4 separate regions of the Homo sapiens genome follow, and all the other regions are linked to region 1. Evidence: promoter capture Hi-C in 16 types of primary human blood cells and fetal thymus (Javierre and others, 2016). All regions are on one chromosome and are shown on one strand. The core of a region is centred on a gene start or on the middle of the fragment in contact, and the rest is flanking DNA. Distances in the headings are between cores, read along the strand shown.

Region 1 (2,700 bases), core at 33-2,532:
CTAGAGTGACCCTCTCTTCCCTCCCTAGGTGGTGCTGATGCAGTGCAACATTGAGTCGGTGGAGGAGGGAGTCAAACACCACGTAAGGCTCAGGGCTAGGGTTGCGCAGGGCTAGTAGCCAGAGGGTAGGGAAGAAAAGTCTCATTTTCTGACTGTCCTATTCTCCAGCTGACACTTCTGCTGAAGTTGGAGGACAAACTGAACCGGCACCTGAGCTGTGACCTGATGCCAAGTGAGTCTCTCCTTTCCCTCAGAGGATGGAGAGTCTATGAGCCTTATCTTTTAGGGACATATTCAGGGGTGGGGGAGGTGACAAGGCAGTAACACATTGACTCACATAGAATGACTATCTTAGACCCTAAAGCAGTGGGTGGATCTGACTGACAGTTTAGCCCTAGTGGGGCTGTCTGAAGGGCCCCAGGTCCCTCAGTCCCGTACTGTACTCACCCCCTCCTGTTTCTTTGTCAGATGAGAATATCCCCGAGTTGGCGGCTGAGCTGGTGCAGCTGGGCTTCATTAGTGAGGTGAGGTTTCTGCCTTCATCTGCCCTGGCTGCCCCCATGCCTTCTCTTCTCTCAGCCCCCATCTTACTGAGCTCTTCTCCCCCAGGCTGACCAGAGCCGGTTGACTTCTCTGCTAGAAGAGACCTTGAACAAGTTCAATTTTGCCAGGAACAGTACCCTCAACTCAGCCGCTGTCACCGTCTCCTCTTAGAGCTCACTCGGGCCAGGCCCTGATCTGCGCTGTGGCTGTCCCTGGACGTGCTGCAGCCCTCCTGTCCCTTCCCCCCAGTCAGTATTACCCTGTGAAGCCCCTTCCCTCCTTTATTATTCAGGAGGGCTGGGGGGGCTCCCTGGTTCTGAGCATCATCCTTTCCCCTCCCCTCTCTTCCTCCCCTCTGCACTTTGTTTACTTGTTTTGCACAGACGTGGGCCTGGGCCTTCTCAGCAGCCGCCTTCTAGTTGGGGGCTAGTCGCTGATCTGCCGGCTCCCGCCCAGCCTGTGTGGAAAGGAGGCCCACGGGCACTAGGGGAGCCGAATTCTACAATCCCGCTGGGGCGGCCGGGGCGGGAGAGAAAGGTGGTGCTGCAGTGGTGGCCCTGGGGGGCCATTCGATTCGCCTCAGTTGCTGCTGTAATAAAAGTCTACTTTTTGCTAAAAGCGTCGTGTGTTCGCGCCTTTCCCGCCAGGGGGAGCGGGCCCGGGGCGGAGGCGGGGCCCAGGTGGGAGGGGGACCCGGGACGGAGGCGGGGCCCAGGTTGGGGCGGGGCCGGGCCCAGGTACAGCGGCCCTGCGGCTGGCGCGGCGGACGGGATGAGGCGCTGCAGTCTCTGCGCTTTCGGTAACTTCCGGGCCCTGGCGTCTCGTCTCCTTACCCTGGGGCTACCCTTGCCCCGTCCTACTGCCCGCGGTTAACCCGCCGCGAGCCGCCTCTCCCCTCCCCGCCCGACTCAACCCTGCCCTCCCCCGTGCTTTGCAGACGCCGCCCGGGGGCCCAGGCGGCTGATGCGTGTGGGCCTCGCGCTGATCTTGGTGGGCCACGTGAACCTGCTGCTGGGGGCCGTGCTGCATGGCACCGTCCTGCGGCACGTGGCCAATCCCCGCGGCGCTGTCACGCCGGAGTACACCGTAGCCAATGTCATCTCTGTCGGCTCGGGGCTGCTGGTGAGCGCGGCAGGCGACCCGGGCGGGGGCCGGGCTCCCGGAGAGCCCAGCAGGCCAAAGGCTTTGTGTCTTCCACAGAGCGTTTCCGTGGGACTTGTGGCCCTCCTGGCGTCCAGGAACCTTCTTCGCCCTCCACTGGTGAGAGGGACTTCCCTGGAGCTTTTAACGAGTAGGCTTGAGTCAGGGAAATGGGGGCTGACTGAGCTTGGTCTTTCAATAGATTGGAGGAGCCTCAGAGAAACTGGGTGTCTAGTCACTGGGAGAGTTAGCCAGGCCCAGGCTGCTCACCCTGATCTCCTGTCCCTGCCAGCACTGGGTCCTGCTGGCACTAGCTCTGGTGAACCTGCTCTTGTCCGTTGCCTGCTCCCTGGGCCTCCTTCTTGCTGTGTCACTCACTGTGGCCAACGGTGGCCGCCGCCTTATTGCTGACTGCCACCCAGGACTGCTGGATCCTCTGGTACCACTGGATGAGGGGCCGGGACATACTGACTGCCCCTTTGACCCCACAAGAATCTATGTGAGCACATTCTCTTCCTTCTTGTGGTCTACAAAGCCTTGGTCCTGCCCTTTTAATTTCCCCTATTTGCTGCACTTGCCCTACTCCCTCCTACTCCCCATCCTTCTTGCTTTTCAGGATACAGCCTTGGCTCTCTGGATCCCTTCTTTGCTCATGTCTGCAGGGGAGGCTGCTCTATCTGGTTACTGCTGTGTGGCTGCACTCACTCTACGTGGAGTTGGGCCCTGCAGGAAGGACGGACTTCAGGGGCAGGTAAGGAAGGCAAACAGGAAGGGTTCATTCCACAGAGACTGGCTGTGTTGAAAAGATGCTGACCGGCCGGGTGCGGAGGCTCACACCTGTAATCCCAGCACTTTGGGAGGCTGAGGCAGGCGGATCACTTGAGGTCAGGAGTTTGAGACCAGCTTGGACAACATGGTGAAACCTCGTCTCTACTAAAAATACAAAAAATTAGGTGGGGTGGTGGGCGCCTGTAATCCCAGCTACTTGGAAGGCTGAGGCAGGAGAATCGCTTGAAC
Region 2 (2,700 bases), core at 95-2,594, 160 kb after region 1:
TGTTTTTAGCTTGCTGAACTGACATTGTGCTAGAGATACTGTTTTGTTTCTTTTTTCATTCAACAATATACTTTTTAGTTATGGTCGTGTCTCTATGTGTAGAATTAGTTTATTGCTTCTAACAGCAGCACAGTATTCCATAGTAGGCATCTATCACATTTTGCAAGGATGGTCACTGTGTTACTTCCAACTCCCTGATGTCATAAGCAAACCTCTCTATGTGTAATTCTTATTAGCTCTACATCTAAAGTGTTACCTTGAATCTGCCAATTCAAGTTAACTTTTTTCCTTTTGTTTACTCTTTCTCCCATGGGCTGTCTCCATAGAGCAGCCAGAAGGATCTTTCTGAACCATAAATCTAAAGTAGGCCTCACAGGTATTTAGCTGGAAAAGGGAGGTTCTAGGAGTCCATTGACCACTCTTGGAGAACTGCTGCTCTGCTGCATCTTGAGCCACCTAGAAGAATGTCTGATGCTTTGTAGTTACAGAGTAATGTTTTTTAGCTGTCATACTGACTGGTCTTAGATTTTGGAATCTGGATTCAGCTGTATACCAGAAATCTCTGGCCAGGTTAATTCATGCAAGATAGCATCCATCCTTTAGCTGTGGAAGCTAAGTATCATGTTGCCTAAATAAGATAGGGCATCAGGTTTTAGGGAGAATGCTGAGGCAGAAGGAAGATGAGTCAGATTAGGGCCCACAGACTATTCCTTTCCCTTAGAGATACCCTTTAGTTGCCATCCCTCTGTCAGAGAAAGAGAGAGGCTGGGACATACCAGGTTACAAATCCAGGGAGTCTTCTGAAGGGTCATAGAACACCTTTATTGCTTCACCTACTTTCTTTTATTAGATGAATCTAGGAAGGAATGTCTACTTGGGCTGCAAAGTGATCATTTATGTGTACTGCTTACTCTTATTACAATGAAGTGTGATAATAATTGTACATGTTGTGTTAGATCAACTATTGTTATTGTTAGGTGATTACAACTTACATTCTGTTTTTATAGCAGGCTTCTTAGTTTTCTGCAGAGGTAACCAACTTGGTTATAATGTAAAAGAATGTATAGAAATTTTGCTCCAGACCTTCCTTTGTGGTATATATTTTTATGTTGTATTAGTAGCAGGACCCAGTGCTCCATAAAGGATAATAGTTTCCAGTACACTATCCCTCATGATGACTCCTTAAGTGGTTCATCGTCTGCATCTTCGTGTGAACCAGTGAGTGATTTTCCAGCATCTTTCCGAAAATCTACCTACTGGATGAAGATGAGAAGAATCAAGCCAGCTGCTACTTCTCATGTCGAAGGTATCAATATCAGTGTCTTATTCTGAAGACGGGCCACTTCCTAAAGTTATAGTTTGAGATTGTTATAAATACCTCTTAAAAGTATTAAATGGCGGCTGAGCGTGGTGGCTCACGCCTGTAATCCCAGCACTTTGGGAGGTCGAGGCGGGCGGATCACAAGGTCAGGAGATCGAGACCATCCTGGCTAACATGGTGAAACCCCGTCTCTACTAAAAATACAAAAAATTAGCGGGGCCTGGTGGTGGGCGCCTGTAGTCCCAGCTACTCAGGAGGCTGAGGCAGGAGAATGGCATGAACCTGGGAGGCAGAGGTTGCACTGAGCAGAGATCGCACCATTGCACTGTAGCCTGGGCGAAAGAGCGAGACTCCGTCTCAAAAAAAAAAAAAAAAGAGTATGAAATGCCACATATTTGTTTCTCATTAGTGATTTAAAAAAATTTAAGGTGTTAGGCAATTGCATCCTGTCCCATTAGCTTCATGAACTGCTATGTGATAGAGTGAAATTCTGCTAATCTTACTCCTCTAGATTATATTTAGCATTTGATTTTCCTCTTTGTAGTATTTGAATTCCCCTTTTCTTCTTCTTTTTTTTTTGAGACGGAGTTTCACTCTTCTTGCCCAGACTAGAGTGCAATGACTCGAGCTCAGGCTCACCGCACCCTCCTTCTCCTGGGTTCAAGCGATTCTCCTGCCTCAGCTTGTAATGCCAGCTGAGTAGCTGGGATTACAGGCATGTGCCACCACACCTGGCTAATTTTGTATTTTTAGCAGAGACGGGGTTTCTCCATGTTGGTCAGGCTGGTCTTGAACTCCTGACCTCAGGTAATCCGCCCACTTTGGCCAAAGTCTGTAATCTCAAAGTGCTGGGATTACAGATGTGAGTCACCATGGCTGGCCCCCCTTTTCTTCTAGTGTGATCCTCTGTTGATGATTTAGGGGCTGGTGTAAGGATTATTCAGGGGAGAATATTCTGGATCGTCACAATCTCAAGGGTCCTTGGTGGCTAGCCCTCTATCTTGAGCAATTCTTATCCTCTTGTTAGCCTCAAGTCAAGATTAAGCAAAACACATTGCTTGAATGCCCTTATTATTCATAAGGAACAATGGATGATTTGGAATAGATAACAATATAAAAAGAAAGGGAGAGTGGGTCAGTTAATGAGAAGTTACACCAACTTCTCTAAAAATGTCACAGACATTTCTCTGAGGCCTGTGTTCACTGATGATCTTTCCTTTTGATGGTCTTGTGAATGATGTTTTGAAGACAGGCCTAGATGTTCATTTACAAAGTGTGCTGAGTTTTTGTTTTGTTTTTGTATGGTACTTCAGGGTCAGGTGGAGTATCAGCCAAGGGGAAAAGGAAACCCAGGCAGGAAGAAGATGAAGACTATCGAG
Region 3 (2,700 bases), core at 78-2,577, 230 kb after region 1:
TCTATTTGGCAGATATAAGAAGTATTAGGAAATTATATTGGGAACGAAAGTTAGATATGAGTGTGAGAGAACAAGAATGCCAGGCTGAGGAGCTCAAATTTTTTTTCCACAATGTGGTAGGTAATTTTACTTTTAAAATATAATGATGGAGAAAAAAAAATTAAGGTGCCATGAAAACAAGTTTTGACTTGTCACACAATTTAGAAAACCTGAATATGCTCATACTAGTGGTTTTGTGGTGGTTGTTCCACCCCCTGTCCCTGCAAGTATTTATTATTTTTCATCACAGATAAACTATATATATATATATATTTTTTTTTTTTTGGGAGACGGTCTCACTGTGTTGCTTGGGTTGGAGTGCAGGTAGCGCGATCTTGGCTCACTACAACTTCTTCCTCCCAGGTTCAAGCAATTCTCCTGCCTCAGCCTCCCAAGTAGCTGGGATTACAGACACCCGCCACTGTGCCCAGCTAATTTTTTTTGTATTTTTAGTAGAGATGGGGTTTCACCATGTTGGCCAAGCTGGTCTTGAACTCCTGACCTTGTGATCCACCTGCCTTGGCCTCCCAAAGTGCTGGGATTACAGGCATGAGCCACTGCGCCCAGCCTAAACTATATCTTTATGCAGCCTGAGAGAATAGTGGGTATCATTCAAATAGTCTCTTCTCATGTCTGATTATCTTTTCTTTCTTTTCCATATCCTGTAGGAGAAGATGCAGTAGAGGATGATGCTGAAGAGAACCCTATTGTCTTAGAGTTTCAGCAGGAAAGGGAGGCCTTTTATATAAAGGATCCCAAAAAGGCTCTCCAAGGCTTTTTTGACCGAGAAGGTATGTAAACAGATTCTGACCCTACCACTAAAACATATCCAGAGCAGTGTGGTTTTCTAGAGCTTCATGTTGAGCTTTATACTAAGATATGCTATAATTTTATTGCTGTCCTTCTTGTTCACTTTTTACTCTTGTGGTCAGTTGCTTTAGGTTTATTTTGAAAATTATTCCTCATTAGTATGGCAGAGGGGAAAAAAATCATAAAAATCTTGTTAGTCTTTCTTCTTATCTTAAAAAAAGGAAGTACTTTTTCCTGACTCATCTCATTCTTCTCAAAAGATCCTGGACTTTGGTGGTGGGGAAATTGAGCCAACTTCCTGTAGTTTTTTAATTCCGAATTCACCTGATCTTTTGTAATTCCTAACATAGGTTTTGATTTTATATTATATGATTTAAAATTTTTTTTCCATAGAGGATTGTTTTGGTAGGAATACTTTGAGAGAATATCTATGTATATGTATGTATATCTGTATATATTTTATATGTATATATAAATAATATATGAAATAGCTGTGCACTTAATATCTGTGCTTCTAAAAACCAGGCAACTGTGTTAAAATAACCACTAAAGTCTACAACTTATAAAAGTGAAACATACTATACAGTGAACAGAGCTATGTATGGAGAATTGGTTACTTTGATCTGAGTTTGTTTTTTTCTCTGCCTCAGACTTACTCTAATTTTATTATCAGACAATAATCCCTAGGAATGAGAAGTGAAATGCATTGAAATTTATTATTCAGTGTGGTATGGGAACTTGTTCTTTTTTTTTTTTTGAGACGGAGTCTCGCTCTGTTGCCCAGGCTGGAGTGCAGTGGTGCGATCTCGCCTCACTGCAAGCTCCGCCTTCCGGATTCACGCCATTCTCCTGCGTCAGCCTCCCGAGTAGCTGGGACTACAGGCGCCCGCCACCACGCCCGGCTAATTTTTTTTGTATTTTTAGTAGAGACGGGGTTTCACTGTGTTAGCCAGAATGGTCTCGATCTCCTGACCTCGTGATCCTCCCATCTCGGCCATCCAAAGTGCTGGGATTACAAGCGTGAGCCACCGCGCCCAGCCAGAACTTGTTCTTTTTTTGAGACAGGGTCTCACTCTGTCGCCCAGGCCGGAGTGCAATGGCGCAATCTTGGCTCACTGCAACCTTGACCTCCTGGGTTTAAGCTATGCTCCGGCCTTAGCCCCCGTAGTAGCTGGGACAAAAGTCACGTACCATCATGCCCGGCTAATTTCTGTATTTTTTGTACAGATGGGGTTTTGCCATGTTGCACAGACTGGTTTCGCGCTCCTTAACTCAAGCTGTCATCCCGCCTCAGCCTCCCAAAGTGTTAGGATTACAGGCGTGAGCCACTGCTAGGAACTTGTTCGTATTTAACGTTTGTTCTCATTTATCATTGTATCAACTAGTAATTTTTGGATTCTATTAAAATTGTTTTGTCTGTCTTTCTCCCACAGGAGAAGAATTAGAATATGAATTTGATGAACAGGGACATAGCACTTGGCTCTGCAGGGTGAGGTATGCTCTTTTCTTATTAATGTTCTTTTCTGGAAAATGGCCAATTTCAGGTTTAATGTATGGTTATAGATAACAACCCAAAGAGTAACTTTCATCTAAGTTTAAGCTATTTCTAAATTTGAGCCTTTATCGTTTAGTAACCCTTATATTATTGGAGAGTGGGGTGGGATGGGTAAGAAATAGAAAGAAAATATTTTAAATCCAACATTGGAAAGATAGAACAAGATGGATTCAAAGACTGAAAGGCCATCTAAAAAAAAAATGACTATTATCATAGCATAGTAGTTGTTTTCTTGAGAATTGGAGCTTAATGCTGTGCTATAATTCCCACCAAATCAATGAAGATTACCTGTGGAC
Region 4 (2,700 bases), core at 57-2,556, 200 kb after region 1:
CTGTCTTGGCCTCCCAAGGTGTTGGGATCATAGGCATAAGCCACCATCCCCAGCCCATTTTTTTTTTCTTTTAACTTGCTTTGGTGAGCAAGGACTCCTTACTTTTATGCCTGTACCATGTTGTTTTAATTATGTAATTATGTTTCAATATCTGCTAGATCAGATTCTCCTCCTAATTTTTATTTGGCTGTCCTTACATGTTCTTCCATATGAACTGAGTATCAACTTTATCTAGTTCCTTAAAAAAGCTTTTTGGTATTTTAGTTGGGATTACATTATATTCATAATTAATTTAGGGAGAAGTGACATCTCTATGATGTTCAGTCTTGCTACCCAAGACCACAGAGTGTCTTTGTATTTGTCAGGTCTACTTGTGTCTTTCAGGAGTGTTTCCAGTTTTCCATATATAGGTTTTTCTTATTTCTTTTTAAAATGTTTTTGTTATTTTAGCCAACCTTTTTGACCAAGAGTTTTTGCCTGTTTCTTTTTAATTTTTTTTTTTTAAAACAAATCATCTTTATGTATTTGTTTTGAGACAGGGTCTTGCTCTGTCACCCCAACTGGAGTGCAGTGGTGTGATCTTGGCTCACTGCAGCCTCTGCCTCCTGGGTTCAAGCTATTCTCCTGCCTCAGCCTCCCAAGTAGCTGGAACTAGAGGTGCCTGCCACCATGCCGGGCTAAATTTTGTATTTTTAGTGGAGATGAGGTTTTGCCGTGTTGCCCAGGCTGGTCTCGAACTCCTGGGCTCAAGTGATCTGCCCACCTCAGCCACCCAAAGTACTGGGATTACAGGTGTGAACCACTGTACCCAGCTTGAAATTTATGTATGTATGTATTTATTTTTGAGGCAGAGTCTTGCTCTGTCACCTAGGCTGGAGTGCAATGGCGCGATCTCGGCTCACTGCAACCTCCGCCTCCCGGGTTCAAGCGATTGTTGTGCCTCAGCCTCCTGTGTAGCTGGGACTACAGGCACATGCCACCACGCCCAGCTAATTTTTGCATTTTTAGTAGAGACAGGGTTTTGCCATGTTGGCCAGGCTGGTCTTGAACTCCTGACCTCAGGTGATCTGCCCATTTCAGCCTCCCAAAGTGCTGGGATTACAGGCATGAGCCACCATGCCCAGCCCCAGCTTGAAATTTATTCTAAGTATTTAACCTTCTTCATTACTGTTGAAAATGGGATTTTCTGGACCGTTACATCTTATAACTGGTTTATGTTTGTATGTATGAAGGCTTTTGATTTCTGTATATTCATCTTTTATCCTGCTACTTTACTGAATTAAAAATTTTTTTTTAGTTTTATCATTGGCTCTGCAGGGGTTTTTAGGTTAGTTTTCATTTACAGCCCACCTTCCACCCCCACCCCTGTATATTGAGGGACTGCCCTCAAGATTCAGATGCAAGTCTATTGCAGCTTAGTGGAATCCTGCAACCAAATTGACTGTACTTAAAAGAAAAGCTCCATTTATTTATTTATTGTAATAAATTGTACATTTATTTTTTCTTCTCATCAGCAACACTAGCATTTTTTTTTTCTGGGACATCTTTCTTAAAGGAGTGATGCTTCTGTTCATGAAAGTTATTGCTCTATATCTAGTAGAGAACAGCAAAGCTAGTAACGGACTGGGTTTACCAGTTAAGTGTACTCACTTGTGCCATCCTGTTGTACAGCTCAGCAAAATACATTTCTATGTGCCACAGTCCTTTAGAATCACTTCTGAATATGTGAAGTCAATGTTAAAACTACTGCTGCAAAGGGTCTGCTGTAGTCAGCTAACCTGTTGAAGGTTGGGAGAGTTTAAGTAAATCATTTGAGGAAAGTCACAAGTATAGTTGCATAATTGTTAGGCACAGAATGAAGCATTTACTGTCAGCATGTCCTGTCATCCTCCTTTTTCAGGCCCACAGGCCCCTTGAGATTTGTGCCAGTTGATGTTGCTGTCTCTGGCCACCCTTATTCCCTAGCTGAGCTCTCGCAAGCCTCATAGGCTCCTGAAGAGAGAGTGACTATGTCCTCCCATGGCAGTAGTGACTTGATTAGACTTCTCTCTGATTACTGGAGCTCAGCCCTCACTAGTTTTTCTGAATAGGGAATTTTACTTCTATTAGTGTATTTGATTTTCTATTTTTCCCCTCCCTCCTCTTCTTAAATAATACCCTGGCTCCTTGATAACATTTCACCCTGTATTTTCTGCAGACCTTCTCTGAACTTACATTTCCACCAGGAGGCTTCCTTAGCACTCCACACTTTCACTGTGACTCACCAGCACACTGGATCTGCTCAAATGTTGTTAGCTTTCATAGGAAAAACCATCACCCCTTCCAAGCTGTGAGCCAGTAAAAAAGAATGATGCTACTAGTAAGACAAGCTTCTTGAAAATTATTTCCCTCAGCTTAAAAAAATGGGACTCCTAGGGCTATTTGCCTTATGAAAGCACTTTGTGAACTAAGCTATTATAGAAATGTTAAGTGGTATTAACAATACATTTAGAAGAGGTAAGATCCTGCGTTTATATGTATCATGAGCACTTTCATCCTGCCAGTTTATGATCATAGTTACTTAGTGATTCAAGATCACCTTTTTGAGGAGGCATATCACTGATAGGTGTTTTCACTGTAGACAGCTTATCTCCTGTGCTGCACCCTTCTGATTTGATCCTGACTCGAGGAACCTTGGATGAAGAGGATGAGGAAGCAGAC

What was found. The method cuts DNA at HindIII sites, captures the fragments that hold promoters and counts their contacts. A CHiCAGO score of 5 or more calls a contact.
Region 2: a fragment that was not itself captured here is called in contact with the fragment with the promoter of KRTCAP3 in region 1 in 1 of 17 cell types (megakaryocytes); the score reaches 5.9 in megakaryocytes.
Region 3: a contact is called between a fragment that was not itself captured here and the fragment with the promoter of KRTCAP3 in region 1, in 2 of 17 cell types (endothelial precursors and erythroblasts). The highest score is 5.2, in endothelial precursors.
Region 4: a fragment that was not itself captured here is called in contact with the fragment with the promoter of KRTCAP3 in region 1 in 2 of 17 cell types (endothelial precursors and megakaryocytes); the score reaches 11.5 in endothelial precursors.

The regions. Positions count from the first base shown.
Region 1 is chr2:27,441,099-27,443,798 of GRCh38, forward strand. It overlaps KRTCAP3 (keratinocyte associated protein 3), which reads left to right and starts at 1,283. Exons shown (of 7, transcript NM_173853.4): 1 at 1,283-1,342; 2 at 1,481-1,665; 3 at 1,744-1,803; 4 at 1,976-2,182; 5 at 2,300-2,434. The coding sequence starts at 1,315. NRBP1 (nuclear receptor binding protein 1) reads left to right here. Exons shown (of 18, transcript NM_013392.4): 15 at 29-82; 16 at 169-232; 17 at 469-524; 18 at 610-1,161. The coding sequence ends at 714. RefSeq lists an enhancer at 1,418-1,960. The HindIII fragment of the contact is 10,159 bases long and covers 1-2,700 here.
Region 2 is chr2:27,596,949-27,599,648 of GRCh38, forward strand. It overlaps ZNF512 (zinc finger protein 512), which reads left to right. Exons shown (of 14, transcript NM_032434.4): 3 at 1,119-1,306; 4 at 2,635-2,700. Among named protein-coding and RNA genes, the nearest start is that of ZNF512, 15 kb to the left of the region's middle. The HindIII fragment of the contact is 2,753 bases long and covers 1-2,700 here.
Region 3 is chr2:27,666,561-27,669,260 of GRCh38, forward strand. It overlaps SLC4A1AP (solute carrier family 4 member 1 adaptor protein), which reads left to right. Exons shown (of 14, transcript NM_018158.3): 3 at 708-830; 4 at 2,283-2,343; 5 at 2,688-2,700. Among named protein-coding and RNA genes, the nearest start is that of SLC4A1AP, 4.0 kb to the left of the region's middle. The HindIII fragment of the contact is 2,905 bases long and covers 1-2,700 here.
Region 4 is chr2:27,645,216-27,647,915 of GRCh38, forward strand. GPN1 (GPN-loop GTPase 1) reads left to right here. Exons shown (of 14, transcript NM_007266.4): 13 at 2,621-2,700. It also overlaps a transcript of SUPT7L not described here. Among named protein-coding and RNA genes, the nearest start is that of SUPT7L, 17 kb to the right of the region's middle. The HindIII fragment of the contact is 2,121 bases long and covers 247-2,367 here.